Linked DNA regions of Homo sapiens: regions 2, 3, 4, 5, 6 and 7 are each linked to region 1. Evidence: promoter capture Hi-C in 16 types of primary human blood cells and fetal thymus (Javierre and others, 2016). All regions are on one chromosome and are shown on one strand. The core of a region is centred on a gene start or on the middle of the fragment in contact, and the rest is flanking DNA. Distances in the headings are between cores, read along the strand shown.

The links. The method cuts DNA at HindIII sites, captures the fragments that hold promoters and counts their contacts. A CHiCAGO score of 5 or more calls a contact.
Region 2: a contact is called between a fragment that was not itself captured here and the fragment with the promoter of MTERF2 in region 1, in 4 of 17 cell types (activated CD4 T cells, non-activated CD4 T cells, naive CD4 T cells and 1 more). The highest score is 6.9, in activated CD4 T cells.
Region 3: a contact is called between a fragment that was not itself captured here and the fragment with the promoter of MTERF2 in region 1, in 2 of 17 cell types (naive CD8 T cells and total CD8 T cells). The highest score is 5.9, in naive CD8 T cells.
Region 4: a contact is called between a fragment that was not itself captured here and the fragment with the promoter of MTERF2 in region 1, in 7 of 17 cell types (fetal thymus, activated CD4 T cells, naive CD4 T cells and 4 more). The highest score is 8.0, in fetal thymus.
Region 5: a fragment that was not itself captured here is called in contact with the fragment with the promoter of MTERF2 in region 1 in 3 of 17 cell types (non-activated CD4 T cells, activated CD4 T cells and fetal thymus); the score reaches 7.4 in non-activated CD4 T cells.
Region 6: a fragment that was not itself captured here is called in contact with the fragment with the promoter of MTERF2 in region 1 in 10 of 17 cell types (total CD4 T cells, total B cells, naive CD8 T cells and 7 more); the score reaches 9.6 in total CD4 T cells.
Region 7: a fragment that was not itself captured here is called in contact with the fragment with the promoter of MTERF2 in region 1 in 11 of 17 cell types (naive CD8 T cells, total CD4 T cells, non-activated CD4 T cells and 8 more); the score reaches 11.5 in naive CD8 T cells.

The regions. Positions count from the first base shown.
Region 1 is chr12:106,984,855-106,989,199 of GRCh38, reverse strand. MTERF2 (mitochondrial transcription termination factor 2) reads left to right here and starts at 2,054. Exons shown (of 3, transcript NM_001033050.3): 1 at 2,054-2,231; 2 at 3,975-4,085. The HindIII fragment of the contact is 15,581 bases long and covers 570-4,345 here.
Region 2 is chr12:107,755,099-107,759,443 of GRCh38, reverse strand. It overlaps PRDM4 (PR/SET domain 4), which reads left to right. Exons shown (of 12, transcript NM_012406.4): 3 at 2,479-2,612. PRDM4-AS1 (PRDM4 antisense RNA 1) reads right to left here. Exons shown (of 5, transcript NR_120474.1): 4 at 1,052-1,169. Among named protein-coding and RNA genes, the nearest start is that of PRDM4, 3.9 kb to the left of the region's middle. The HindIII fragment of the contact is 238 bases long and covers 1,907-2,144 here.
Region 3 is chr12:106,223,638-106,227,982 of GRCh38, reverse strand. No RefSeq gene overlaps it. Among named protein-coding and RNA genes, the nearest start is that of CKAP4, 22 kb to the left of the region's middle. RefSeq lists a silencer at 3,597-3,706 and an enhancer at 3,757-3,806. The HindIII fragment of the contact is 4,033 bases long and covers 1-3,782 here.
Region 4 is chr12:106,292,560-106,296,904 of GRCh38, reverse strand. No RefSeq gene overlaps it. Among named protein-coding and RNA genes, the nearest start is that of TCP11L2, 8.0 kb to the left of the region's middle. The HindIII fragment of the contact is 1,172 bases long and covers 1,810-2,981 here.
Region 5 is chr12:106,313,310-106,317,654 of GRCh38, reverse strand. It overlaps TCP11L2 (t-complex 11 like 2), which reads right to left. Exons shown (of 10, transcript NM_152772.3): 3 at 3,162-3,297. Among named protein-coding and RNA genes, the nearest start is that of TCP11L2, 13 kb to the right of the region's middle. The HindIII fragment of the contact is 735 bases long and covers 1,590-2,324 here.
Region 6 is chr12:106,334,556-106,338,900 of GRCh38, reverse strand. It overlaps TCP11L2 (t-complex 11 like 2), which reads right to left. Exons shown (of 10, transcript NM_152772.3): 7 at 3,075-3,262; 8 at 2,688-2,869. Among named protein-coding and RNA genes, the nearest start is that of POLR3B, 21 kb to the left of the region's middle. The HindIII fragment of the contact is 195 bases long and covers 2,378-2,572 here.
Region 7 is chr12:106,374,503-106,378,847 of GRCh38, reverse strand. It overlaps POLR3B (RNA polymerase III subunit B), which reads right to left. Exons shown (of 28, transcript NM_018082.6): 7 at 2,398-2,489; 8 at 464-581. Among named protein-coding and RNA genes, the nearest start is that of POLR3B, 19 kb to the right of the region's middle. The HindIII fragment of the contact is 5,172 bases long and covers 1-4,345 here.

The DNA of each region.
Region 1 (4,345 bases), core at 805-3,304:
ATGCTCTACTTGAGCAGATACATGATGTTCGAATCAGTGTTCTCCCCTTAACTAGAAATCCTACTTGTGGTTAAGGGATTTAAGACATTTTACTCATTCAGCAAATACTTCTTCAATTCTTATTGCCAAAAACTGTACTGACAACTTGGGAAAATTATATTGAGAGAACCAGGGTTTTGAATGAACTGTACAAAGTCCTTATGTTTTTCATATTTGCTTAAAATAAATAAGTAAATTTGAGATATAAAAGTCTATCAGTATTTTTAATGCATCTCTTACATACTAGAAATTTCAGGATCTTCTCACAATTCAAATGTGTTTGTAATTTTCTTGTACATAATATGCATAATTGTAAGTTCTTTTCCCCTTTTCTTCATTCAAGGTTTTTTTTCTGATTATATGGTCCTAGAAATGCACTGTTTAAATATTTGGGCTGGAAAAAACTTTGAGTAGCATTTATTTAATACAGTTGGCATAGCTGATTTGTCAGTTTCAAGTTTTGATTACAATGCACGGGGTCATATGTATTGTAATTCCTTGCACAATTACGTGGAGCCCTAATACAAGCTTCCAGCACCCTGGTGCACATTTCTGCTCCCTCCCTCCTGACCAGTGATGGCAGCTTGCAGTTCTAAGTCCTGAGTTTACATTCCTTAACTTCCTTTTCTGTATCCTAATTTCCTTTTCCTAAGTGCAAATGACACACTTTGGTTAGTCTGGACCCCAAATCATTTTATTTCAGGAAAAAGTGTGCAATAAATCTATGCATAATAGAGTTTTTATATTCGGATAACTCAGGAGTTGCTGGACAAACACCCCCCAGCTGTACACATGAGTTGCTCAGATCATTCTAGAATATCCTAGAGATCAGAGGTGGGTGATCTTGAGGAGCCAGGATTCTTGCTGCTACTCAGTGGAGTTAAATGCACGTGTGAGCTCCTCTCAATATAGCCTGTTGAGCCTAAACTGCATAGTGAGACTAGACTCAAAGATTTAGTTAACATTTCCTGAGTTCCTACTGTGTGCCCAGCATTGTTGACAGAAAAAATAATCAGTAGCCTCAAGGAATTCACTCCACAGGGTGCGAGGGCAGTCTGTATGCCAGTGCCACCGACGGCAGAACTGTGCACAGTGTGCTACGAACACCTGACAGCAGACACCTCCAGCTGGGAAAACCAGTTTTCCTGACTCCAACTCCACACAAACAGAATCACCAGGCCCAGCTCAGGGCACCCTGTCCTCGATAACACTTAACTAGGTGTGATTAGTCACGTTATTAGTTGTTGATATCTCTGCCCTCCACTAGAATGTAAGCTCCATAAGGACAGGGAATGTGTTTTATTCCCCCTCTATTTTCTCATTGCTGTTTCAATATGCTTGGCACTTAGCAGGCCTGCCATAAATACTTGTTTTTTGGATGGATAAATGTGAAAATAAATGAGAGAGACATTCAGCCTGGCTTTAAGGAGAAATTAACGTGTTTAGTGTATGAGGTTGGGCATCACCGGTAATAATTAGAATGGAAACCACTTGGCAGTTTATCAGAAAAGGGGAGTATTTAGGTGAAGGTGGCAAGGAGGGAGAGAAAGGAGAATGGCTTTTAAAGACAGTCGCTAACTGCTGGGGTAGGGTGGGGGCGGGGAAGAGTTCAGATGTGTTTCAAAGAACTTTGGGGGTTTTTTAAACATTTCTTTTGTAAGTTGGTTCTTTACCTAACTGAATTATTTTGGGAACAGTGATTGGCTCTATCTTAAAGATATAGCGGTTTCTGTTACTTCTTTTTTTTCTTATATTTTCTAAGCGTCAAAGCTACTGGAACTCCGCTTCCTAAAATGCTGGGAAGGAAAGGGTGTGAAAATGCCAGATGCCCCCGCCAGCACAGGCTGGGCTGCCTGGAAAGCCGATTCCCACTCCGACTCGCCCTCGTGGTGCGGGGAGGGACGCGTAGTTGTGTCCCGCGCTCTGACTGGCTGCGTTGGGACGCGGGGGCGTGTCTTGGGGGGGCGGGGGTTGGCGGTCATCTCCCGAGCCCTGATTGGCCATGGGCGAAGGGACTGATGGCCTGGTTGGCGCTGCTGAGAACTGTCGGGAGCTTCTTGAGACCGAGGACCGAAATCCCGGCTCCAGGCCTCGGGGACTGCGGACTGTGGGGAGGCTGGCCGGAGAGAGAGGGAAGGACGGGGCCTGGCCCCCGGGACTCCCTGTGCCTTGCTTGGAGCTGACGCCGACGGGTGAGTCGCCCCCTTCCTCTGCTCCTGGGCGTGTTCCTCACCAGCGGCGCCGCAGCGGTCAGGGCCCGCAAAACCCCACGCCTCGCCAGACGCTCAGCTCAGCCTGCCGGGTTTCTCTGGAAAAGCGGAGGCCCCACAGTGAATGTGCGGCCTTTTGATCGGTCCTGGAGATCTTCCGTGGACCCTCGTTTTTCCTTGCTTATAAACGTTGGTCAATTTGAAACTGGCAGCAGGGCATATGTGTTACGAAAGAAGAACTTTATTGAAACCAGTGGTGGTGTAGAGAAGACCATACTAACCATAACTGTGTATTACAGAAGTGAATTTCACTCCCCAAAAATGCTTAAGAAACAAGCATCCTAGAACAGCCCACATTGTGATTTAACAAACATTTACCAAAAGCATTGCTATATGTGGGGGCACAGGGCTAAGAGCAGGCAGGACTCTGGAGCCAACCTGTGGGGTTTGAGTCCAAATTCTGCCGGTTTTTTGTTTTTTGTTTTTTTTTTTAGCTGAGTAACCTTGGGCAAGTTCCTTTACCTGCGTCTGTTTCCTCATTTTAAAATGAGTTGTTGTGATGATTTAATGATTTAGTATATGTGAAGAGTTTTCTGCATATTCTAAGTGATTTATGGTATTAACTCGTTTGATCTTTGCAGTCACCCAGGAGATAGTATCACCATTTTCCTGATGCCAAACTGAGGCTCAGAGAGGTGAAGTAACTTCTTCAAGTCACAACACAACTGTTGTCCAGGAATCAGGCAGTCTGGCTCTGCTAACCCAGTTTTACCCACTGCATTAATGTACCGCATCCACTTGTTCACTCAGTTTCACCTGACAAATACTAATTTTGTCTCTCTGTGGAACAAGTTCTTTGCTGGGTGCAGGGAATAAAGCAGAACACCGTTCAGTTCCTGCCTTCCCAACGCTTGTAAATCTAGTGCAGGTCATTCATGGCCGGGCTGCAGGGTGTCCATGAATCCTGCTAAAATCATTTGCGAAATGTTGTGAGCGTGGGTCTTTTCTTCTGGAAAGAGAGTCTGTGACTCTCAGGTTCTGAGTTGATCTGTGATCCAAACAGAGGTGTGAAGAAGTGTTGTTTTAGCAGATCTGTGCCTAGTATGCCTGATACACAGCTTGAACTTCAAACAAACAGCAACAAAATTCCTACTGGTTGGAAGAATGAAGAACTTGTAAGAGCATAATAAGTGCTGCAGTAGCGTCCGGAGCAGGGTGCTGTGGAAGAGCACACAGAAGGCCACCTGCCCAGGAATGCCTCCTAGAGGCAGTGAAGGCAGCTGGGTGAAGGATAGGGAAGCAGTTCATTGGAACACTGTGGTGACCAGTCTGTCCATGTAGTGTTGAGACAGAAACAACACGTGAACAGCTGCAGCTGTTGTACCACTTGTGCGCAAGTGTAAAAGTCCATGGTGCCATGAAATCATGTAATGGGGACAGGAGGCTTCATGTATTCGTGAAGGTTAGAAAAGTTTCCTTGAGAAAGTGACACTTAGGCCTAAAAGTTGGAGCATTTTGGGCATGGAATCTGGCCCACAGTCTTCAAAGACCACATGGTAGAAACCAGTAGAGCACCAGGGACTGACAGGAAGCAAATGCAGCTGGTGCAGGAGAGGGAAATGGGAATTAGGGTGGTGGCAGAGCCCAAAGAGGCCTTGTAGGCCATGGTAAGGCATTTCTATGTTTTATTTTACTTTGTCTTTATCCTAAAATGCCATTGGCAAGTTTATTGCAGGGAACTGACAAGATCACATTTTGAGAAGAAGTTGGAAAGAATCCCAAGTGGATGAACTGAATATCTGGATGAGGACAAGATCTGTGGGGAGAGACTGTAAGGTAAGAAGAAGAGAGGTCTAGAACCAAGCCTTGAAGGTGAGCTTGTATGGGAGACAGATAGAGGGTGGCGAGAAGTATAGAAAGGGAGAAGAATCAAAAAAAGTCGAGTGTCCAGGAAGTCAAATGAGAGAATATTTCAAGGAGAAAGTGGTCAACTCTGCTAAAAGCTGCAGAAGTCAAAAGAGATAAGGAAGGCTGGGTGTGGTGGCTCATGGCTTGTATTAGTCCTTTTTCATGCTGCTGATAAAGACATAGCCAAG
Region 2 (4,345 bases), core at 776-3,275, 770 kb before region 1:
AAAAAATATTGTAACCAATTTGTTAAGTAGGCTGTTACAGCTGTAGTGATTGTAGTGTTTTAATTATGGTTGTAGCTATAAAGAGTTAGGGAAAAGTCTGTTTTAAACCAACTCAAGCCCAGCAACTTTCAAAATTAAGGTAGATATGTTTTCTTTAGGCTACAGGGATTTTTTGCTTTTTTTGTTTTTAAGACACAGTCTCACTCTGTCACCCCAGCTGGCGTGTAGAGGTACAGGCAGAGCTCACTGTAGCCCCGACCTCCCCACTTCAGCCTCCCCTGTAGTTGGAACCACAAGCACGAACCACCATGCCTGGCTAAGTTAAAAAAAATGTTTAGTAGAGACAGGGGTCTCACTGTGTTGCCTAGGGACGTCTCCAAGTCCTGGGCTCAAGCGATCCTTCTGCCTTGGCCTCCCAAAGTGTGGGATTACAGGTGTAAATCACCACACCTGGGCTGCTTTATTTTATAGCATAATAAAAACTGTTATTAGCATGCTGTTCTTCATAAGGTGTACCTCATTTGCCAGGTGCTTCTAGCTGTCTTTCTGGTAAGGGTGATGAGTTTGCATAGCTCCATCCGATAAAATAAGAAAATTCAGAATGTCTGTTCTATACAAGGTACTAGGTTGGCCTTTTACATTTTATTGATGTCTTAGAGCTTAGTTTTATGGGATCCATGGCCAGGGATAAGGGTGAAACCTAATAATGCAAGAAACAGGTCTATGTGGAACTTTAAATATACGCCACAATATAAGTAGATAGGCCCTAATGTATTGCAACTGTGTAAAAGGCAATATAGTTCTTTTATTGTAATTGTCTTTTTCTTACTATAGTTAAGAGCTTTGGTTTCTTAAATTAGTTCTGAATTTAAATCCCAGCTCTCCTTACTGGTTATGTGATTCTGGGTTAAGTTTCCTAGCATCATTGAATCTTAAGTTTCCTCATCTTTAAAGTGGGATTAAGAATAATACCTACCTCCAGCCTGGGCAACATAGGGAGACCCCATCTCTGCAAAATAAAAACAAATTAGCCAGGCATGGTGGCACTTGCCTGTGGTCCCAGCTGCTTGGGGGCTGAGGTGGGAAGATCTCATGAGCCTAGGAGGTAGAGGCAGCAGTCAGCTGTGATCACGCCACTGCACTCCAGCTTGCAGCTACTGAGCAAGACCCTGTCTCAAAAACAAAAAAAAAAAAAAAAAAAAAAAGAAGATTAAGAGAGATAGTTACATATAAATCACTTAGCCCAATACATAGCACATGGTAAGGGAGCCATAAATTTTAGCTATTATTATTTTCAGGTTGATTGATAAAATGGCATTGCCATTTTTCAGAATTAAAAACCTATTTAGATTTGATTTCACTGCTAAGGAATATGTAACCTCATTTGATTCCTCTTCTCTGCTTCACCCCCTCCCATACGCAGAGAATAAAGCCCAGTGTAAGGACTGGAGGTCATTAGAGAGCCCCTTTTGGGTAACCTGTTGGCTAGCCTAGTGGTTCTGTAATGTTTATAGTATGGCAGTCTCTAAATTATGATATAAGAACTAATACTTTTTGATAACAACCTTCAGTGCTGTTTTATTCAAATCAGTATTACTCTTATTCGAAAGACATTTGTAATGGCAGTGCAAGATGGTTTGCATAGAAAAGGTGATTCCTAGGTTCTTCACCTTGCCAAAAATAGTCTGTAGTTAAAAAAAAAGTTTGGTGCAGTTAAAAAAAAGTTTGGTGCAATGAAAAACTTTTTGGCAGTGTTTTGCAGTTTGATCTGTGATCTTTCACTTAATAGCTATGTGATTTGGGGCATATGACATGGCCTCTCTGAGCCATAGTTCCCTCATCTATCTTACGTTGCAGTATTGGTGTGAGGATTTGAAGTCATTTTAAGTGAAGTGGTAGCAAAGCTTACATAATGACCCTCAATATTTGGAGGACATTAATATACTGATACAGAATCTTAGTAAACTGTTGCTGAATGGGGAAAATACGATGCTTTTCACATCATCGATAATCTGGATCTTTAACTCCTATTAAAAATGATTAGTAAAATTTACTTGAGTAGGTTAAAATGCGCTGCCTAAAACACTACTGGTTTGAAATAATAAGCCATTTGGAGAAAAATAAATATTATAAAAGATGAAGCTTGAGTGATTTAAAAAAAAACTGTCATTGCCATTGTGCTCTAAGAATTGCAGACTTTGCTTTAGATGGTGTGCCTAGAGTTTCGAACAAGGCAGAATTCAAATCCTATTTCTGCTATGTGACATTGAATTGAGTTTTTAATGTCTCAATCTCAGTTTTCTTATCAGTAGAAAGAATATGGCACTAGCTATCTAAGAGAATTGTTGAGCGTAAAAGTGAACTAATAGTTGGCCAAGTCCCATTTCCCCATCCCCACTGTTTCAGTTTCTTCAGTATCTTAATACAGAGTCATTGGAGTAAATTTTTGCATAACTAGTTGTGTGTGCTCTTTTCTAGGATGAATGAAATGAACCTGAGTCCAGTGGGGATGGAGCAGCTGACTTCATCCTCTGTGAGCAATGCCTTGCCAGTCTCAGGAAGTCACCTGGGATTGGCTGCCTCACCCACTCACAGTGCCATCCCTGCCCCAGGTGAGTGGTAAGGGAGACCTACTGCATTTCAACACTTAACTCTGTTATCAATTCTAAATGGAGTCTAGAAGAGATCAGAGCCCCTTTAAGGGTAGAAGGTAGAAGGGAGAAGGTAAGCAGGCCTGAATGGTGGTTCAACATGTGATAGGTAATGGAAAATAAGGTTTTTGTAGAGGTAGAGTATTAGAATTCTAGTGGATAGTAGCAGCAATTTTTTCTGATAGTCCTCTTCTGAGTTGGTAGCTTTTTGTCCAGAGCTGTAATTAACTTGGCATTTTATTTAGGGCTGCCCATTCATCTGGTTCACACTTCAGTACCCGTTCCCTGGGTTAATAGAAGAGAATCAGTTAAAATTACTCTAATAACTATTCCCAGAGAGCATGGGGAATTGGGCTTTATATTCCACCAGGTTTGAAATTAAATGGCAATAACTGCAAGTGTACCAGGTCTAGAATTAATGTGGAAAGAAGTGTGGTACTTTTACCTGGGGCTTTTACATGGAACGCCTCATGAGCCTCCATACACAGCAAAATCGTATAGGAAAAATTCATTCTTCCTATCCTTTTTTTTTTGAAATGGAGTCTCACTCTGTCATCCAGGCTGGAGTGCAGGGGCACGATCTCGGCTCACTGCAACCTCCGCCTCCCGGGTTCAAGTGATTCTCCTGCTTCAGCCTCCTGAGTAGCTAGGATTATAGGCATGCACCCCTACACCTGGCTCATTTTCTTTTTTTTCTTTTTTGAGATGGAGTTTCGCTCTTGTCGACCAAGGTGGAGTGCAATGGCACGATCTCGGCTCACTGCAACCTCCGCCCGCCTCCCGGGTTCAAGCAATTCTCCTGCCTCAGCATCCCGAGTAGCTGAGACTACAGGCACACGCCACCATGCTCAACTAATTTTTTGTATTTTTAGTAGAAACGGGGTTTCACCATATTAGCCAGGCTGGTCTCGAACTCCTGCCCTCAGGTGATCCGCCCTCCTCGGCCTCCCAGAGTGCTGGGATTTTAGGTGTGAGCCACCGCGCCAGCCGTCACTGTACTTTTAAAACCTTTTTTCTGCCTAGCTTCATTTTCTTATTCTATTGAAATAGAATATAAATGGAATAAATATTCTATTGATTATTACAATGATAAGCTGTCAGTTCTTTAGGATCAATGACATTGTTATGTATTGGACTTTCTTTGTCACAGTAGGAGTTAGTATAAATAAATCTATATATTGTTTAAATAGTTCTCTAAAGAGAATTACTTGCTTAATTAATAAAATGCAGCAGTTAAATAAGATTCATTGAAACTAGGGTCTCTTCACATTTGTTTAAGTGTCCACAAAAGAAATCTTAAAAAATTATTAGTGGTTAACCCACTTGATTGTTTGTAGGCATTCCCTTTAGTGGACACTCTTGTTAAGGTGGAAAAGCCTGTTAAAAAATATTGCCAGCCAGGCACAGTGGCTCACGCCTATAATCCCAGCATTTTGAGAGGCCAAGGCAGGAGGATCACTTGAGCCCAGGAGTTCAAGATCAGCCTAGGTAACATAAGGAGACCCCATCTCTACAAAGAAAAAAAAAAAAATTAGCAGCGCATGGTGGCACACACCCGTAGTCCCAGCTACGTAGGAGCTACATAGGAGGCTGAGAAGGGATGGCCACTTGAGCCAGGAAAGCTCAGGTTGCCTGAGCCATGGTCATGCTACTACGCTCCAACCTGGGCAACATAGCAAAACCTTGTCTCAAAA
Region 3 (4,345 bases), core at 517-3,016, 760 kb after region 1:
AATTTCTTCTCTTATCCCCCACAATTTGTTTTGGCTCCAGGCCTAAGCACAGATGCAAAATGCTCAGAAGTAAGCGAAGAATCAGGGCAGTTGAGTTGCTGCAGGCAGCAAAACCCACTCTTGGCAGGAAGGGGTGTGGCAGCCTGGCCTTGCTGTGCAAGCCCCCGCGTGTGGCAGCGAACACTCAGGAGCAATACCTGTTGGGTAATGGGGCTGTGGGGAAATCCCGGCCTGTGTTCAAATAGCTGGTGATGTTGTGTTGAAAGAGGCATTACCAACTGGGTGTGGCTGCTGGTGTGAGGACACATCCTGTCCCACAGAGTCCTTCATGGAAACTCAGAAGGCTAGGTCTTTTTGTTTTCTTCCATTCACGGGTATGATCTTGGTTTGCACTCCAGGACGGAGTTCTCACATGGTGTGACAAGAACAGCAGGGATGGGGGAAGTCACCTGGAATCAGGACTCTGGTCCGAATGCTGGCCTGCCGGGCTGTGCTGCCTAGGATAATTCACTTTCCTTCTCTGGGCCTCCATCTGTTTTCCCATCTGAAAAGTGAGGGGAGATAAAGTAATCTTCATGTTCTCTTCCAGATCCAACTTTCCTTGACTTTAACCATTGCACAAGAGTCTTTTGGAGCCTCGGGTGGGCAGGAGGAGGCCTAAGGGAAAAAGGACTAGACAGTGAGCAGATCTCTAGGGGCCAGGGTGGCTTCTGTCTTAACCAAGGGTCTGTTTGTAGCTCCCATGGGGGCCGGCACACACTGGGTCACAATTAATGTTTTCTCATTTATTGGGGTGAAATGGGGAATGTTGGCCGGGCCGGGCTGACATCTTGGATAACCTCATGTGAAGACTATTCACTTTCAGAAGATGCCGGGATGCACCAGTAAAAAATCCAGAGCGGCTCAAGCCCCTGAACTTTCAGCTGGGGAATAGCCCCAAATCAGCTGACTGTGGCAGTAGGAACCCAGAGAACATAATTGAAGTGAGAATTTATTGCCATCTAGTGTCAGAGTCAGGGATCACAGGAATGATTTCTTCATTTTTCGCTCTTGTTCCAGAAAGGGGATAAAATCCAATTGTACCATTAAAAATACCAGAGAAATCCACTATTTAAAAGACCTATGTGTGTATTTCTCTGTGACATGAATGCTTTTGTAATGTGTATACTATCCTACTAATTAGCCCCTTTTGAAAACTTAGGTAATAAAGGGTTTTGTTTAATATGAATCTTTTGTTAGTAGAAGTTTAGATACCGAAAGACCTTTATCGTTCCTATGTCAAGCTAGTTAAGAAGTGCGCAGTGGCTCACGCCTGTAATCCTAGCACTTTGGGAGGTCAAGGTGGGCGGATCACGAGGTCCGGAGATCGAGACCATCCTGGCTAACACGGTGAAACCCCATCTCTACTAAAAACACAAAAAATTAGCTGGGCGTGGTGGCACGTGCCTGTCATCCCAGCTACTCGGGAGGCTGAGGCAGGAGAATCGCTTGAACCTGGGAGGCGGAGGTTGCTGTGAGCTGAGATCACAGCACTGCACTCCGGCCTGGGCAACAGAGTGAGACTCTGTTTCAAAAAGGACAAAAAAAAAAAAAAGTGCAAGTGGCGCCCTTTAAATAAGGCAAGTCAAATGTTGGATGCTTAGTCCTTCACTTAAGTAATAGTCACCCATAATTGTGTTTTGTGTTTGATGTCATGCTTTAGGTGGAACACATTTATCATCTCGCTTACCCTGACGATTATCCCAGGGAGTAAAAGTGGTTGTCTCTGATTTACTGATCAGACACTAAGAAATGGTCATTAATTTGCTCTGGGAGCACGCAGTCTGTGGTAGCAGCAGGACTCGGACTCTGTTTGTCTCTAATAAGGCCTGCTTTTTGTCTGTTAAACCATACTCCCTTTCCCATAGTAATAAAATCAGCTTCCCATAATGTCCCAGGATACAACTATGTACTTGTACTGTGTGTATAGTACTGGTGGTTAAGACACTGGGTTCTGGCCAGGTGCAGTGGCTTGTGCCTGTAATCCCAGCACTTTGGGAGGACAAGGCAGGCAGATTGCTTGAGCCCAGGAGTTCGAGACCAGCCTGGGCAACATGGCGGAAAACCCCATGTCTACAAAAAATATAAAAATTAGCCGGGTGTGGTGATGCATGTCTGTAGACCCAGCTATTCAGGAGGCTGAGGTGGGAGGATTGCTTGAGCCTGGGAAGTCAAGGCTGCAGTGACCCATGACGGCAGCACTGCCCTCTAGCCCAAGTGAGACCCTGTCTCAAAAAAAAAAAAAAAAAAAAAGATAAGAAATTGGATAAGTTGAGTTTTTGAGCCTTACTATTTGAGTTCCCAGCCATGGCATATTCTATCTGTCTGACATCGGGACAGTTACTTAAGTGCTCCGTGCCTCAGTCTCCCCACCTATAAATGCAAATGATGCTAATGATAGTGCCTACTTCATAGGGTTGTTGTGAGGCTTACTCCATCTGAGGTGCTTAGAACAGTGGCCATGACAGTGAAGTGCTCAATAAATAGTACTTAGAAATTGACTAAATGCAGGGAATTTGAAATGCCAGGCTTGTGAAATGAGCCCTTCTATTGTTGGCCTGCAAAATGTGAGTTTAGAATTTTTTTTTTGACAGGGTCTTACTCCATTGCCCAGGCTGGAGTGCAGTGGCATGATCATAGCTCACTTGCAGCCTTGACCCTCCGGGCTCAAGCGATCCTCCCGCTTAATCCTCTCTTGTAGCTGGAACCACAGGTGCACACCGCTACACCTGGCTCGTGTTTTGATCTTTTCATAGAGACAGGGGTCTCACTATGTTGCCTAGGCTGGTATCAAACTCCTCAGATCAAGTAATCCTTGCACCTCGGCCTGCTGAAGTGTTGGGATTACAGGCATGAGCCACTGTGCCCCGTTGAGTTTGGAATTTTGATTATGAGTGCCTTCAGGTGGGCCTGTGTTTGATTGTGAGTGCCTTCAAGTGGGCCTGTGTTTGATTGTGAGTGCCTTCAGGTGGGCCTGTGTTTGATTGTGAGTGCCTTCAGGTGGGCCTGTGTTTGATTGTGAGTGCCTTCAGGTGGGCCTGTGTTTGATTGTGAGTGCCTTCAGGTGGGCCTGTGTTTGATTGTGAGGTCTTCAGGTGGGCCTGTGGCCTCTAGATTCTCACATTTCCCACCACTCACTTGTGTCTGCTTCTCCATTCATTTAGGCCTCCTGTCTGGCTCCTGGAAGCATTTGGTGTTTTGATCCTTGCAGTGAGTGAGATGAATTACATGGACATTGTCAACCTGATGGAAACTTTGGGCTCTTTGTCGACCTCTTTTAAGGGCTGTGACTTCATGGCTTTGTACATCAAAGAAGATCTTTGGGTTTTCTTGTGCAATTTGGCTTCTCCTGCCGAGAACAGAGGCTCTTCTAGCCAAGAACTAAAGCCCACCATGGCAGTCCCTCCCCAGATTCTTCTGCAGATGGCTACTTTCCTCCTAGCCTTCACGGGAAGGAACCGGGGCTTGCTGAGGTAAGGAGGGGCACAGGAGAGAGGGAGTAAAATCTGCAGAGAGGCAGCCCACACACTCAACCCCTAGAGCCCCTCTGCAGAGAAAGTCTATGCTGAGGAGATGTCAGAGCCACAGGACAGTCCTGAAAATCAGGTGCCACTCAGAGGCAATTGCCATCCACTACCAGAAGAGGGCACTGTAGTGCAGCGGCCCGGGAGGGAGCAGCTGCAGCCGATGAAGGTTCTAGGCCAGACTGCATGGAAGTAGCTGGGACCTGCCGTTAAGAAGCTTGGCCCAATTTTTCCTGATGGCCCCTTCTAGCTCTGACATTCTGCAATCCCATCAGGAGAGAACTGGAATGAATCAGCCAAGAATTCCAAGTGGGTTATAGAAGGAAGAAACCAGAAGCAAGGGCTGGGGGAGGAGGTGGGTGTGGCTGGAAAGTTTCTTTTGTTGGGGGCTAAAATCTGTCTAAGTGAATCCAGCAGGAGGAAAAAAAAGCCTTAAAACAGCTCCCCTGGGGTCACATGCTCAGGTTGGGCAGCCTGTCAAACCACCCCAAGTCGACTGGAATCCAACATGACATTATAGCTCACTCCTGCCCTTGTTGGAGGAGTGCTTAATCCCAAAGAAACAATTAAAGTTACAGATAGCACACACTGGTGGTTTGCCCATCTCTGCATTTTGTAAAAGCAGAGCCTATTTTCTTTCTTGATGGAACTGCCTTCCAGAAATGGCTTGCTGCAGAGTCTGTGGTGGCCTTGGGTGCTCCTTGGCAGAGATGAAAAGTGAAGTCAGCAGGCGAACCCTTTCTGGCTTGGCTCAGGCGGCCACCGAACATGCCTTGTTATGC
Region 4 (4,345 bases), core at 1,146-3,645, 690 kb after region 1:
AGAGTCTCACTCTGTCAGCCAGATTGGAGTTCAGTGGCATGATCTCGGCTCACTGCAACCTCTGCCTCCCGAGCTCAGGCGATTCTTTTGCCTTAGCCTCCTGAGTAGCTGGAATCACAGATGTGTGCCATCACGCCTGGCTAATATTTTGTATTTTTAGTAGAGATGGGGTTTCACCATGTTGGCTAGGCTGGTCTCGAACTCCTGACCTCAAGTGATCCACCCCTTGGCCTCCCAAAGTGCTGGGATTACAGGCATCAGCCACCACACCCAGCCGTACATTTTGAAGACAAAAAAATTGAGAGCTCTGAACATTCAAATGCCTGAATAGTAGCTTTTACCTGAGTTCCTGGGCATTCTAGAGGAAGGTCATATACTAGGGCACTAAGGGTTTATGTTGACTAAAGGGATACTCAGCAGTGACTCACTCAGTTGGCAGGTCAAGAATAGAAACCAGAAGAACTCACTTCATGGCTTCTCTCCGCAAATACACACATATACACGTGCAGTGTCACATGCAAAGTATTACCTATTGGCATAATTATCTAATTTCCATAACAACATATCAACAAGCATACCAGCTCTGTACCAACTAAGTGCCCAAAGTATTTATAATCACATTCCATTACTCTAGAAGGGTGCCTGGACCAGATACTGGGGTGGCTGTGCCTTCTAGAAAGCAAGAATGGAATGCAGCTTTATACAAAAATATGAAGCTGTTTACATAGATATATATTCACCCGCACACATGCACACACGAAACATTTCTGGCCAATTCCCTCAGAGGGATCCCAAGCCATGCCATTGTTTATGTTACATGTACATCTGCATGTATATTATCAGTAAATTCCCACAAAGCTCAGTATAGGCTGGGCGCAGTGGCTCATTCCTGTAATCCCAGCATTTTGGGAGGCCGAGGTGGGCGGATCAACTGAGGTCAGGAGTTCAAGACCAGCCTGGTCAGCATGGTGAAACCCCGTCTCTATTAAAAATACAAAAAATTAGCTGGGCGTGGTGGCGCACTCCTGTAGTCCCAGCTATTTGGGAGGCTGAGGCAGGAGAATCACTTGAACCCAGGAGGCAGAGGCTGCAGTGAGCCAAGATCACGCCACTACACTTTTGCCTGGGTGGCAGAGTGAAACTCAGTCTAAAAAAAAAAAAATGCTCGGTGTAACATAATTATACAAATAAATTTAATTTTAATGCTGAAGCTGAATTCTTTATTTAAAGGAAGACCTCTGTGATGATATGTGGACGTTTAAAAAAATGACTTTTTAAAAGTTACAAGCATTACGTAGATCAAAATTTTCAAAGAATTAATCAACTGAGGTACAAAATAATTGTATATAATGAGGAAATGTGGTATGGTGGAAAGAGGGTGGGCTTTGGGTTCAGACAGACCAGAGGGTTGACAGCCAAGTTCCACCACTCATTATACATATGTCCTTATCCTCACAGGTATAAAATGGGGATAATAATGTTGTGGGGGCCATTTGTCATTTTGGTGATCCAGCTTTCCGAATGGTATTTGAATTGTTATCATTTATTATAGAAGCCAGAGAGGGGATGATATGCTAATCCCATTAATACTTTACTACTGGAGCTGGAAAGGCATTCTGTCTTCCCAGACCCTGGTGGCTGTAGCATGGGCATGGGACCTACGCATGTTCTGTCAGATGCTGACCACCACAGGTAGATAGGGGTGATTCACAGAGCTACAGTGGTGGTGCCCAATGCTGATGACACCAGCTATGGCATCCTTAGCATGTTCTTAGCTATGCCTGGCTTCCTTTAGTTCTTTCCCAAGCTTGGTTCTTCAGTCTAAAATATGTTAGAGTCACTCGATAGCTAATTCCATGAGCTACCAAGACCCTCTGGTCTCAGTTCCATGAGCTACGAAGACCCTTCTGGTCTAGTCAGACTAAGGTGTATTATTTGCCACTAAGAACTTTGACTAGAACAAATACTCCATAACCTGTGGGAGAATTAAAAGAAATAATGTATATGAAGAGTTGAGCAGAGTGCCAGCGACATTGTATGGATCAGTAAACTGTAACTACTATTATTATACTCTTGTTATTTTAATGATTTAATATTTACAGTTTCGACAGGTCCTGGGCAACTTAAAGGTCTGTGACATGCGATAATTTAAAATTCTGCCAAGGAGCAAATTTGAATCTAATAAGTTGGTGGTACAGGAGCCATTTATTTACCTCACAAATGAGCCTAACACATCACCCAGTATTTATATATCAATGTGAGGATTACTATTCTCCACTCATTAGGCCAGTAAGTCAGATCCATTCAGGAAAATAATATAACTTTATATTGTGTTAAGAACAATGATCCAAAAACTTGGATAATTATCCAAACGTTATCCAAAGACTTGGAAATAGGCAAAAGGGATTACTGGATGTCCTTTTAGTAGGGTGCTGTGTAGTGCAGTGTAGTAGCAGACTCGTACAAGGATTCATGCATTATCTAGGACTGTGTACCTTTGTTGGACTTACTACTCGTTATTGGTTCAGATATTCCAGAACTTTGTAAAGGCAGATGTTACTTTATCAAAAACTGATAACAAGGGCCCAGTGTAGTGGCTCACGCCTGTCATCCCAACACTTTGGGAGGCCAAGATGGACAGGTTGCTTGAGGCTAGGAGTTGGCGACCAGCCTGGGCGACATAGAGAGATCCTGTATCTACAAAAAAAATACAAAACTTAGCTGGGCAGGGTGGCATGTGGCTGTAGTCCCAGCTAATCAGGAAGCTAAAGTGGGAGAGTCCCTTGAGCCCAGGAGTTCGAGGCTACAGTGAGCTATCATCATGGCACCTCAGTTTAGCCTGGGTGACAGAGACCCTATGTCAAAAAACCGAAAACCAAAACCCAAAACAAAACACCAAAAAATTGATAACAATGCAAATTATTCTTGTCCATTTCTAATACAAGTAAAATCTTTTCTGTTCTATAGAAAAGATAAAAGCTTACTATTTATTACCTTATAAGACATTAACCAATTTTGTGTCTAACCTAGTAATCTTATTGTAAGATTTTTAAAAATGCATTTCTTGATGGGATATATAAACCCCTATTTCTCAAATATTCCTTAAACCAACTTTACCATTTTACTGGCTAACTCTTTAATTGATGAAATAAATATTTTTTTAAGCCCGTGTTTGTTCTGTTTCATATAAGTCATGTTTTCAATTTGTTGAAAATTATACCTTGACAAATAGAAGTCAATCCAAGGGGCCACATAGAAGGAGCATGTAATCCAGAACTGACGACCCCCAGGTAGGCTTCCTAGAGAAAGGAGTAGCCAAGCAGATACATGTACAAGAAGTTCTCAAGTGATCTCAACAAAACAGATTCAGGCCCCTAAATCAGTATTTAGGTCAAATTCATTGTTGAAAAATAAGGCTGATATGAGCTTAACTGATAAGGAAGAAAATTGGAACTACTTAGCTAAAAATCTGGATTGGTTTAAACTGCTTCAGTGTTGCTTTTATAATTTTCAAAAACGGCAGCTCACTTTGGAACCACAGGTACCTGCGAACTGTGGGAAATTCACCATTCTTGCCAAATGAGGTGAGGAACTCAATTCACTTTCTAAATCTACATAGATGGTTCTGCGCCATTTCTTCAGGAGTCCAAAGCTGAACCATAAGCTTGATGTAGAGGGCATTGCAATGAGTGGCTTTCAGCCCACAGGTGGACTTTGAATTTGAATGCCACAAGCCCACCCCTCTTATATGTAGCCTACTTCATTCATTTACATGGTTCACCTAGCTCTTTAAGCATTTTTGCCATCTCCATGAAGAAAAGTAGGGCCCCAAGCATTGTTTTCACCCATGAAATCTGCTATGCATGACTAGATGCAAAAAAGCAGACTTCAGGAAATCTTTTAAATGTACAGCATGTATCACACATATCCTGTAATTATTGGAGGACATGAAAGTCACTCACTTCAGACTGTTCCTTGGGCACAAGGAATGTCTTCTACTCATGAATACAAGCAATTTAACTGTCTGAAGGCTGAACTCAGAGGCTCAAATTAATTGCCTGACTTTGGACTAACAAGGGTTTCAGGGTTTTTTTTTTTTCCTTTTAGCAGGAGGGGTTGTGCAAAAATTAAACTTCTCCTGAGCACCTAAAGTCTCCAGATGCTGGGCAGGTAGTGTTTACCAACACTCCCCTCAATAGCTGCCTCTTATTCTCAGACTACCTGATGGCTGAGACCACGATGTCTCTTTTGGGCAAAGTCGTTCTCATACTTGCTCCATAAAAGGGGAAAATACAGGTATGGGAGTTCCTCTTCTGGAGTACAGATCTGAGGCACATGCAGCTAT
Region 5 (4,345 bases), core at 708-3,207, 670 kb after region 1:
TTCCTAAGCAGAGGCCATAAGTCCTCCAGGTAGGTACTTACCATTGTGCCTAGTACAGTGCCTGATATATAGTGACTGCTTAACAAATGCATGCATGGTGAATGAATTCATAATTTGATAAGTATATCTCTTTTTTTCTGAGACAGAGTCTCACTCTGTCGCCCAGGCTGCAGTGCAGTGGCGCAGTCTCAGCTTACTGCGGCCTCCGCCTCCCAGGTTCAAGTGATTCTCATGCCTCAGCCTCCCAAGTAGCTGGGATTACAGGCATGCACTGCCACACCCAGCTAATTTTTGTACTTTTAGTAGAGACAGGGTTTCACCACGTCGGGCAGGCTGGTCTTAAACTCCTGACCTCAGGTGATCTGCTCACCTCAGCCTCCCAAAGTGCTGGGATTACAGGTGTGAGCCACTGCGCCCGGCTAAGACTTTATCTTTAAACAAAGGCAATGTGTCCTAACTCTGTACTTTGTTTCCCTTGCTCACATTTTCTAGCCATGGCAGAAACTGAAGGGAAGAGAGATTAATATTTTCCATAGTATCAAAGTATTTATGTGCAAGGCACTTTTATGCTAGTGAGTATGCATTTGAAGTGAGTAGTGTAGCCCCCTTCTTATTCTTGGGAAGTGTGAGGTTCAGGTATGGTCTCAGCAAAGCCAGGATTCAAACCCCACAGTCTGTCTGAGCCTAAAATGCCTTCACTATGGCCTGTACTCGCCACTTTTGAATTTAAAGTACAGATATGCCCTGTCTTTTGCTTTACCTCATAAAAAATACAAATTTTAACTTTAAAACAAGACTCCATCTCAAAAAATTCATTTGTATTAGTCAATAAATGTTTATTAAACATCCAATATGTGTAGGGCCCTGTTTTAGGAACTGGGAATACTACAGTGAAAAGAAAGTCTCTGACCTCAAAAAGCTTATATGTTAGCAGGGACAAAAAGGCAAAAAATACATTAAAAATGAATACGACAATTTCAGACCTATGAGAAAGAATAAGACAATGTGGTACACAGTTACAGAGAGGGTGCTGATTTCACTGGATGGTGGGAAAAAGCCTCTTTAAGTCAGTGACCTTTGTGTTCAGACTCAGAAGGGGAGAGCAAAGAGCCATGTGAAGGTCTGGGAAAAGAACATTCAAAAAGAAGAAGTCAGAGGAACAAAGTTTATGAGACAAGATCCAGATTGGTGAACCCTGAGGTAAGGAAGGAAGCCAGTGTGGCTGAAGCACAGCAAGCAGGAGGGACAGCACTGAGATGGGGTCAGGGGAGTGGGGCCATCCAGGCCATAGGAAAATGCTTAGATTTTTGGTCTCTGAGTAAGTGAAAACCATTGAAGAGTTTTTGGCAAAGAAATCATCTAATATAGCTCATTCTTTAAAAACATCATTAAGGCTACTGGATATGGAAGATGAACTGTTGGGGGCTAAGAAAGGAGACACGGCAACCAGTTAGGACTGAAAGGGTCCAGGCCACAGATGACGGTGGCCTAGCCTAGGGCTGTAGCAGTAGAGCTGGTATCAAGGGTCATGGCAAAATGCAAGTTACCAAAGGAAACCAAACAGATACACCCACGATACATGGCAAGCTTAAAAAATGTTAATATTAAATGAACAACATCCCCAAGAGGACTATGATCCACATTTTAAAGAAGAAGAGTTATTACATTGACTTCCTTTACTTTTCCTGCTTTAAAACAAATGAAAAAGTTCTGAATGGGATCAAATATTCTAAGTTGTCTTAACTGATAGAATGCCTCAGGATTTATAATTGGTACTGTAAGGTTGAAAATTCAATCCACGAACCAACTTTGCTTCTAAAGACGACTGATCTGTAATAATAGTCTCAAGCCTCTTCTCTTTGTCTCAGGAAACCTGTGAGCCACTGACTCCAGAAAGGCTGAAGTAGGATCCAAAGGGGTGGCTCCAACTAGAGGTCGGAGGGCGAGGTTAACCAGGAAGTGCCTCTTGCAGCTGTGATTCCTACCTCCAGACATTTCTGGATTGCCTGCTTTTAGCACTTTGACAGTTCAGGTGCATTTATTTATTCTTCAGAACCTGAGTATCAGTTTTCCATAAATCAATGTGCAAATATGTCTTGAGCCTGTACTGTATGTCAGGCACTATGCTAGACAATAGGGATACAGCAACAAACAATACAGACATAGCTCCTCCATAAATAGTGCATTTCAATCAAGTGGGGAAGATGGACATCAAACATAAAATTATAAGACCTCTTAACAAAAAGGAGGCAGCAAGGGCTACAGGTGTCTGTAGCAAAGGGATTAATTGTAGTCTAGGGGGTTCACCAATGTCAGAAAAAGCTTCCCTCAGGAAGTGACATATAAACTGAGTTCTAAAGATTATGGGTAATATGTATCCTAGGGGAATTTTTTTGTTTGTTTGTTTTTGTTTTTGTTTTTTGAGACGGAGTACTCTGTTGCGCAGGCTGTAGTGCAGTGGTGCGATCTCGGCTCACTGAAACCTCCACCTCCTGGGTTCACGCAATTCTCCTGCCTCAGCCTCCCAAGTAGCTGGGATTACACGCGCCCCACCACCATGGCCGGCTAATTTTTGTGTTTTTAGTAGAGGTGAGGTTTCACCACGTTGGCCGGGCTGGTCACAAACAGGAATTTTTTTTTTTTTTTTTTGAGACAGGGTCTTGCTCTGTCACCCAGGCTGGAGTGTAGTGGCATGATGAGAGCTCACTGCAGTCCCTGAACTCCTGGGCTCAAATGATCTTCTTGACTCAGCCTCCCCGGTACCTGTAATTACAGGCTCATGCCACCATGCTGGATAATATTTTTATTTTTATTTTTTACAGAGATGGGGTCTTGCTTTGCTGCCCAGGCCAGTCTCAAACTCCTGGCTTCAAGGAATCCTCCCGCCTCCACCTCCCAAAGTGATGGGGTTACAGGTGTGAGCTATCACACCCAGCGAGAATTTTTTTAAAACAAGTATAAGACCTTGTTAGAGAACTAAATGTTTACCCCTGAGGATATTATACAAGAACTTCCAGGAATCAGTGTAAATATGTGTCTATCTCTCTCTCTGTCTCTCTCTCTCTCTCTCTCTCTCTCACACACACACACACACACACACACACACACACACACACACAGAATCTTCAGCAGTTTATATACAACAAATGCCCCCAGGTTACCTCTTTTCTGGGAGAGCCTCTTGTTTCAATTGAAAGTTCTCATTTACAGCAATCTCATGAGCAAGAGTCAAGTTTGATAAGTTCCTTGCTGTAGCCATCACTTCATCAAATGTTACAACCCTTGGAGGGCTTGTTGCTGAAAGAAAAACAAAAGCCAGTTAATGTTGCAGAAGAAAAGTTGTCATCCAACGAAGCCTCCTGATGCAGATAAGGTTTAATTTATCAGAATGTATATACTTCAGAGTTTTATAGGTCAGGAGACTATATATTAAAATAGGTGAATTCCCTCAGTTAATAAAGGCTTCAAAAATTTAAGAACTCCTTCAATAGCTTCAGTTACCATATTTGATAACATTGTCTCAAATATTTATGAGACCAACTTATTAATATAGGCCCATTATAAGTTACTTTTAAAAATTAAATTACCAGGCCAGGCGCAGTGGCTCACGCCTGTAATCCCAACACTTTGGGAGGCCGAGGCAGGTAGATCATGAGGTCAGGAGATCAAGACCATCCTGGTTAACACGGTGAAACCCCGTCTCTACTAAAAATACAAAAAAATTAGCCGGGCATGGTGGCGGGCACCTGTAGTCCCAGCTACTCGGAAGGCTGAGGCAGGAGAATGGCGTGAACCCAGGAGGAGGAGCTTGCAGTGAGCCAAGATCGTGCCACTGCACTCCAGCCTGGACGACAGGGTGAGACTCGTCTCAAAAAAAAAAAAAAAAAAAATTAAATTACCTCATTTTTAGTGCCCATTGAAATCTGCACTTATTATATGTATTATATAGGAAATTGATAAAATTATTTTTATTCTGTAATTCAGAAGTCTCATTAAGTAAACTCAATATGAAATAACTGATTTTTAAAACCGTAATATTTATTTATTTATTTATTTATTTATTTATTTATTTTTTTGAGATGGAGTCTCACTCTGTTGCCAGGCTGGAGTGCAGTGGTGCAATCTCAGCTCACTGCAACCTCCACCTCCTGGGGTCAAGAGATTCTCCTGCCTCAGCCTCTCGAGTAGCTGGATTACAGGCACATGTCACCATACCAGGCTAATTTTTGTATTTTTATTAGAGACGGTGTTTCGCCATGTTGGCCAGGCTGGTCTCGAACTCCTGACCTCAGATGATCTGCCTGCCTTGGCCAAAGTGCTGGGATTACAGGTGTAAGCCACCGCA
Region 6 (4,345 bases), core at 1,226-3,725, 650 kb after region 1:
CTAGAATGCTGGGATTACAGGTGTGAGCCACCGTGCCCAGCCTGAATGGCTATTATTAAAAAGTCAGAAAATAACAGATTCTGGCAAGGTTGTAGAGAAAAGAGAGCACTTATACACTGCTGGTGGGAATGTAAATTAGTTCAGCCACTGTGGAAAGCAGTTTGGAGATTTCTAAAATAACTTAAAACAGAACTACCATTCAACTGAGCAATCCCATTACTGGGTTTATTCCCAAAGGAATAGAAATCACTCTATCAAAAAGACACATGTACTCATATATTCACTGCAGCACTATTCACAACAGCAAAGACATGGAATCAACCTAGATGACCATCAATGGTGGACTGGATAAAGAAAATATGGTATATGTACACCATGGAATACTATACAGCTGTAAAAAGAATAAGATCATGTTCTTTGCAGCAACATGGGTAAAACTGGAGACCATTATCCTAAGCAAATTAATTCAGAAACAGAAAACCAAATACCACATGTTCTCGCTTATAAGTGGGAACTAAACACTGAGTAAACATGGACATAAAGGGGAACAACAGATACTGGCTCCTACACTTAAAGGTGGAGGTCTGGAGGAGGGTGAGGGTTGAAAAACTAACTATGCTCACTACCTGGGTGATGAAATCACTGGTACACCAAACCCCAGTGACCCTCAATTTACCCACGTAAAAAACCTGTACATGTGCCCCTACACCTAAAATAAAAGTTGAAAAAGGGAAAAAAAGCAAAAATCAATTAATCAATAAATCCTCTTTCAGCTCTTCAAAAAAAGTTGTCTTAGCATAAGCCATGCCTTCTACTCACAATGAAGAGGGAAAAACTCCTTCTAGTTTTCAAGATGCATCATCAAACCCAATATAAATGACATCTTGGTCTATTATTTAGTACTATCCCTTTTTTTAATACTATGAATGCTATTGCCCCATCCGTAATGAGGATAATTGAGAATTGATTGTATTGATTTCCTAACACAGGAAAAAAATTTAAACAATGAAACAACCAGATAAACAACCAGATACAATTATAAAGAGGATGATTTAATGACTAGTTATTAATAGCTAGCATTCATTGAGTACATATTACGTGCCACACATCTGTACCTGAATCATCTTAAGTTCTCACAACTCCAAGGTAGATATTAATACAATTATTATTCCCTTCTTACAAGTGAGGAAGTCAGGCTCATAGTAATTTGAGAACATATTCAAGTGTTCATAATAAGTCAGTAGCAGAGCTGGGATTTAAACCCTGGTCCATCTGACCCGAAAGCCTGTCTTCTTAGTAACCACTTTCTGTATACTTTATAATAACATTTCAGCAGCACTGGGTATTCCCTAAAGGCTTAATAAATAAAAGTTTCTGGAAAGTAATGACTACCCATGCAGGGAAATCATAAGATAAGACCAACTGCAAAATCAGAGGTTTCCTTTCATTATAGGTCTTGGTCCTGGAATATTAATGAGCATCAGAATCAGGAGAAAGGTCAGATCAGGGCTCAGTCCTTGGTCTGCCCTTTTCTGTTTGCAGCCCAAGGCAAATTCTATTCTATCTGTAAGCTTCAGTTCAAAATGAGAAGTTGGATTCTGTAACTACATGGGCTCCTTTTGGCTCTTAATAGTCTAGGATTTCATCAAGTAATTTATATGCTCTCTGAATAATAGGTGGGAGGATGAGAAGACAGGTGCATTTCCCTTCAATTACAGGAATAAAGAGGACATGCCTCTGAAGACACCTGAAAGGGGAACCAGCAGAAGCTGATCCATAAGAGACCCATAGAACCATCTGGCCATTCACCAAGACTAAGAATTTCTGACTTAGATAGGAATTCCTATTGGATGATGTAAATGCAAAATCTAAATGGGATTCTAGCATTCATGAAGGTGTAATACTGGAGATAAATTTAGCAAAAACCAAAATCTTCACTGGACTGTGTCACATCTCTGAAGGGCAGAATTGTCAGCACTTCTGAAGACTTCGTAGCAAGGTGGATTTGTGAAGTCAGTAAACATTTCACTGCAGAAAAATGATGAAGTCAGAACAACTGGAGGAAAGCCCTCTTCAATAGCACAATTCTAGGGAGGCCGAGATGGGTGAGTCATGAGGTCAAGAGATCGAGACCATCCTGGCCAACATGGTGAAACCCGGTCTCTACTAAAAATACAAAAATTAGCTGGGCGTGGCGGCGCATGCCTGTAGTCCCAGCTACTTGGGAGGCTGAGGCAGAAGAATTGCTTGAACCCGGGAGGCGGAGGTTGCAGTGAGCTGAGATTGCGCCACTGCACTCCAGCCTGGTGACAGAGCGAGATTCTGTCTCAAAAAAAAAAAAAAAAAAAAAAAATTGCGCAATTCTAAACATCAAGCTTGGCAGATTTCTGTGTTTCATTTGTTTTTTTCCAAAGCACTGTCAAAGAAAAGCTGTTGTACACATTCATTGTAAGTGGAAATACTACACTCACCCTGGCACTTGTCATGGAAAACACCTCTCCCTTCCTATGAGAGGACATCTAAGCCTTCAGAGATATTAAAGGAAATTCTAGAAAAAGGTGTAAGATAAGCTTCTCTAAAGCACAGTCCTGAATCTCACATCCAGATGTCCAAGGTCATTCTTGTTCTCTGAGACACATGCAGAGCCTTAATACAAGAGGGAGCAGATGCAAAAATTTGGAACTTACTCTTTGTTCATGCCTTCAAGTAGAACAGCTGAAATCCTTGTTAACCTGCTTGCAAGCTCAGGCAGGCCTCCTGTAATAGCACCCACCATGTTGTTGGTAATTAGGGACAGGCAGGCAATAATTTTCAATTGATTCAGCTTTTCTGTTAGTTCCTGAAGACGTGCTCCATCTGTCATAAGTGTCTAACATATTTATTTAAAATATAAAAATAGAAAGGGTAGCTCAATAGCATGAAAATACAAAACAGGCAATGTCATTTCCAAATTCCCATTTTTATCTGATTTTTGTAAAGTCATTAAACCACATGAAACACAGACCAGATGATTCAAAGTTAGAACTTAAGAATAAAAATACTGGGAAATTTGGGTGAAGAACAAAACCACTCACCTCTGGTAATTCTTTTTTCTGATAATCCCACTGTAACAGTTTCAAGTAACTATTATTTAGCACCAAAGTAGGGCTCAGGCTTGGCTTGGAGGTATTTTCGGCCCCAGGAGTTAAAGCACTCTCAGAAAGAGAAAATAATTCTTCATTTACAGATTCTTTTATCCATTCTGTAGTCTGATCAAGAGCACCTAAGAGTGAAAAGGCCACATATTTGTTCTACAGCTGATTGATCCCTTCACTGGTGTATTCCACTTGACAGATGCTGTGTTGGGTGCTGGGCATGAATGAGAAGACACAGCCATGCCCTGCAAGGAGTTTACAGTCCAGATGGAAAGGCAGACCTGTAAACTAACAATTATAACAGAGTACAATGAATGCTAGTAATTGTGGGAAAGAGGCTGTCCAGGAAAGAATCTAAGAGGAAGAGCTCTGTAAGTGCTCTGGAAAAGACAGCATATGGCACATTCTAGATGTCACATTCTGGATGCCACAAACAAATCTGTATTGCTGGTCCATAAAGAACTAGGGGTAAGAGGGTTGTAGCAAATGGCATTGGATGGGTGGTTAGAAGCCAGCCTTGAGTTTGTGCAGAGAAGGTATTTAGAGAAAAGGCATTAATTTTCACACATTTTTGGTAAAAGGTGAAAGATTTATACAATCTGAAGAGAAAATAGAGTATAATTATTACACATTTTTGGGTCTTGGACCACTTTTAATAACTAATTGGAGATATGCCTTTCCCAAAGTGAATGTGCACAATCACGTGCACATGTCCACAAACAATTGTCATTCTCTCTTACCAGATTGACAGTCCCCAGGTTACAAACACCAGCGATGGGAATGGGGAGTTTTGAATAATATTATTTTCTTTCTTTTCTTTTTTTTTAAGACGGGGTCTCACTCTGTCACCCAGGCTGGAGTGCAGTGGGGCAATCTCAGCTCACTGCAACCTCCACCTCCCATGTTCAAGCGATTCTCCTGCCTCAGCCTCCTGAGTAGCTGGGACTACAGGCGTGCACCACCACACCCAGATAATTTTTGTATTTTTAGTAGAGATGGGGTTTCACCATGTTGGCCAGGATGGTCTCAATCTCCTGACCTCATGATCCACCCACCTTGGCCCCCAAAAGTGTTGGGATTACAGGCGTGAGCCACTGCGCCCGGCTGAATAATATTATTTTCAACATGGAACCTGTATGATCAGATATGTATGTCAGAAAAATTGCTTGGAAAGAAAGACTGAATTAGTGGAGGGAGAGTAAATTATTGCA
Region 7 (4,345 bases), core at 868-3,367, 610 kb after region 1:
TGTGAAAGAGGCTGGTCTAGAAAACTAACAATAGGGTGTTAAGTCCATGATACAGGTCATTCAATATTAAGTGTCAAATAGTCCCTGATCATACTGATGCAGGAATACACATGTAAATGGTAAAAGGCTGAAAAGGAGCATAAAAGGCTGAAAAGGAGTGTGAAAAACTGAAGAGTGGTTTTATTTTTTTTTTTTTAAATCTCCTTTCATGCTCTATAAGCTAACATAAAATTCAGCTTAAACAGTGACTTTTCAAACAATGTCTCAGACTCCCATCACTGAAATTTTAAAATCAGTACCCTATGCTTCCAGACTTTCATAATAAATTGAATGCAGATAGCTTAAATATTACAATGCCTGCTTTTAGAGGGTAATAACTGGCTCCCTCTGTATTGAAACATAGCCATTTAGGACTAATGGAATGACCAATATTGCTTAAGGACACCATCTCTGCTTTCCATACCTGGTAACTGAAGCTCCAACAGCCCCTTTTCTATCAGCCTCCACGATGATCCTGTTCTTAGACAGCTGCTCTTGGATAAGAATAACTTTTTCTACTCCTTTAACAATGAAGTAGCCACCTACCCAAAGGAAACAAGAAAAACTTCATCATTTATTCCTCAACCAGTGTTGATTTAGTAATGGCAGGAATCTTGTGAATCAGAGATTACCTTTTCTACTACTGCTTCATGGCACTGGCTAACACTTGATTCAAAGGGGTTGCTGATTTTATTTTTTATTTTATTTTATTTTATTTTTTGAGAAAGGATCTCCCTTTGTCGCCGAGGCTGGAGTGCAGTGGCACAATCATAGCTCACTGCAACCTCGGACTGCTAACCTCAAGTGATTCGCCCGCCCCAGTCTCCCGAGTAGCTAGGACTAGAGGCATGTGCCACCACACGTAGCTAATTTTTAAATTTTTTGTAACAACAGGGTCTCACTATGCTTCTCAGGCTGACTCCCTGTCTTAAGCCATCCTCCCGCCTCAGCCTCTCAGTGCACTGGGATTACAGGCAAGAGCCATTGCGCCCATCTGATATTGTTTTATGGACTGAAGATCAGCACGTGATTTTATACAAATGAGCTACAAGATAAAAAATTTCTTGAGGACAGGAAATGTATCTTATTGGTCTATGAATCACCCGCCCCTGACATATGTAAAAAGTGAATGAAAAAAATAGTTAAATAAATTAGTTGTCAGAGCTCTTAAGTACAAGTGTAACTGACAATTTTCAATATAAGCTCAAATTTACTCTAAGTTTTCTAACAAATCAGTGGTAATGGTAGATTAAGATTAGGTTTCCAAAATAATATTCCATATTCAAAAAAACTCATGCATCATCATGTATTTTTTTTGCACACAATTCAGAGTAGGATAAAGTAATACTTCATTTTATACCTGCAGAATATAAGCAAAAACAATACAACATATTTGACTTATGCAACATTCTGTTATAGTCTAGTAAAGTCACATTCTTCATTAACTTCTTTCCAAAACTTCTGGGATTCTAAAACAATGCAACTTTACAGGAATAAGATTAAAGCAACTATAAGTTCAAATAAATCAATGTGAAATACGAGTTAAAGAACTAAGAGAAACTTTTTGTTAAGTTCTAAGTTTGAAATTTTACAAAAGAAATTGCCTAGAAATAGGTACAAAAATAAAATTTTTAAAAATGTAAACAAAAAAATACTTTCATCTCCCTACTGCTTTACTGCATTTAAAACACCCTGAAGTGTGATACTTGATTTTTTTCAACCAGGCAAGGCCAGTAACTCTGGAAGATTATTCTTGAATTTTTAGGCATACCAAAAGAAACTCGTGGGCAAAGATAGAAAGAAAAGACTGACAAATCATGGCAATAAACAAGAATGTGTCATATTAAAGTCTTAAGCCTGAAATAAAAGAGGAAACAGTATGTCTTTGAGAAATATAGACTAATAGGGCTAGGCGCAGTGGTTCACGCCTGTAATCCCAGCACTTTGGGAGGCCAAGGTGGATGAGTCCAGGAGATCAGCCAGGATGACATAGCAAAACACCATCTCTACTAAAAATACAAAAATGAGCTGGGTATGGTGGCACAAGCCTGTAGTCCCATCTATTTGGGAAGCTGAGGTGGGAGGATTGCTTGAGCCTGGGAGGCAGAGGTTGCAGTGAGCTGAGATCACACCACTGCACTCCAGCTTAGATGACAGAGTGAGACACTATCTCAAAAAAGAAAGAAAGAAATACAGACTAGTAGCATAAAGCTAGAGACAAATTTCTGGGTGTTTTGTGAACAAGTTCATTATAAAGTAGAAAAGCTGGTACTGTTTTTGAGACAAAATGTTAAAACCACAGCAGCAGCAGAATAAAAGAATAAGGAAAGTGGGACAAATCCAAGACTTCACACATACCTGGATCTAAGGGACATTCGTTCAGTTTGGCAAATTCTGCTGGCGTTTTTCCTGTAAGAACACAGTTTGAACTACGTAGCATTATGGGCATTCTGTATAAAATAAAACAAAAGAAAATATCACATGTAGGCTGTCAATGATAAAAGCTGCAAAAAATACAAAACATGCAGTGCACACCACCTCACTAAGGGTCTATCTATGCACCATGTTAGAAAAGGCAGAGAAATAGCAATTACATGGAAGCCAAGCAAAATGAAGTATTTTCTCAGGCACGCTGCTCGTCTAGTACAGATGATAAAAACTCAGGCTGGGTGCAGTGGCTCATGCCTATAATCCCAGCACTTTGGGAGGCCAAGGTGGGTGGATCACATGAGGCCAGGAGTTTGAGAGCAGCCTGGCCAACATGGTGGAACTCCATCTCTACTAAAAATACAAAAAATTAACTGGGTGTGGTGGTGTGTGCCGGTAGTCCCAGCTACTCAGGAGGCTGAGACAGGAGAATCGCTTGAACTTGGAGGTGGAAGCTGCCGTGAGCCAGGATCACACCACTGCACTCCAGAGTGAGGCTCTGTCTCAAAAAACAAAACAAAAAAACAAAAAACTCAAATGTTTGGTTTAAACTTTGCATACAGGCTTTAGTGAGAGTCAGAAATGACAGCAACACTTCCTTCATGGAAGACAAAGTGATTCTCATCAGTTACTTGGCAATAGCACAATGCATCCAAGTGTAAGGAACAAGAGGCTATGAAAACTAACCAGGCAGTCTGGAAAAAGAACTGAGCAAAATGTACTAGAAATGGAAATTTTAAGCACTAACTTAAAAATGTAGAAATAGGTTGGATAATAATAGCTTTGATACTGCTGAAGATATAATTACTGGGCTGGAAAAGACATCTGAAGAAATTACTGAGAATGAATTTCAGAAAGACGTAGAGATGGAAGATATGAAAGAGAGTTTAAGAGTCAGGGAAGGATAGAGAGAGAGCGACTAATCAACACCTAATCAGACTTCTAGATGGCGAAAATACACAGAATAGGTGAGAAGTCCTATTCAAAGAGATAAGAGCCATAAATTTTTAAAGACATATGAAAGCCATAAATCCTCACGGTAACATCTGCACAAGATAAAAAGAAAGCTACACCTAAGCAGATCACAGTCAAGATACTAAACACCAAAATTAGAGATAAGGTTTAAAACCCAGCCAGAAAAAAAGAGAGGCTACCAAAAAGGGAAGGATGACTGGATGCACAATAACTTCACAACAACCAATGACACAGAGCAGTGTGCTCGAAGTGTGTGTCAAGCACACAACCAATGTGCTTGAAGAGAAAATAACTGCCAACCTCGATTTGTGTATTCTGCTACGTATTCACTCAGAATGAGGTCAACATAAAGATATTTTCAGACAAAAACTGAGAGAAGTTACTAATGTACTAATAGGCCCTCACTAAATAAATTTCTAAAAAAAATTCATCTTCAGGAAGACGGAAAATAAACACTAACCAAAAGTCTGACGTGTAAAAATGTATGGTGAGCAAAGAAAATGGAAACTAATGTGTGTGGATATAAACAAATGCGAACTTCATAAGACAATAACAATTTCTAATTTATAGGTGAAAAAAACATGCCAAGGAGGCCAGGTGCGGTGGCTCACGCCTGTAATCCCAGCACTATAGGAGGCCAAGGCAAGTGGATCACAAGGTCAAGGGATCGAGACCATCCTGGTCAACGTGGTGAAACCCCATCTCTACTAAAAATACAAAAAATATTGGCTGGGCGTGGTGGCGTGCGCCTATAGTCCCAGCTACTCAGGAGGCTGGGGCAGGAGAATCACTTGTACCTGGGAGGCGGAGGTTGCAGTGAGCCAAGATCACACCACTGCACTCCAGCCTGGGCAACAGAGCGAGACTCCATCTCAAAAAAAAAAAAAACATGCCACAAATGGTG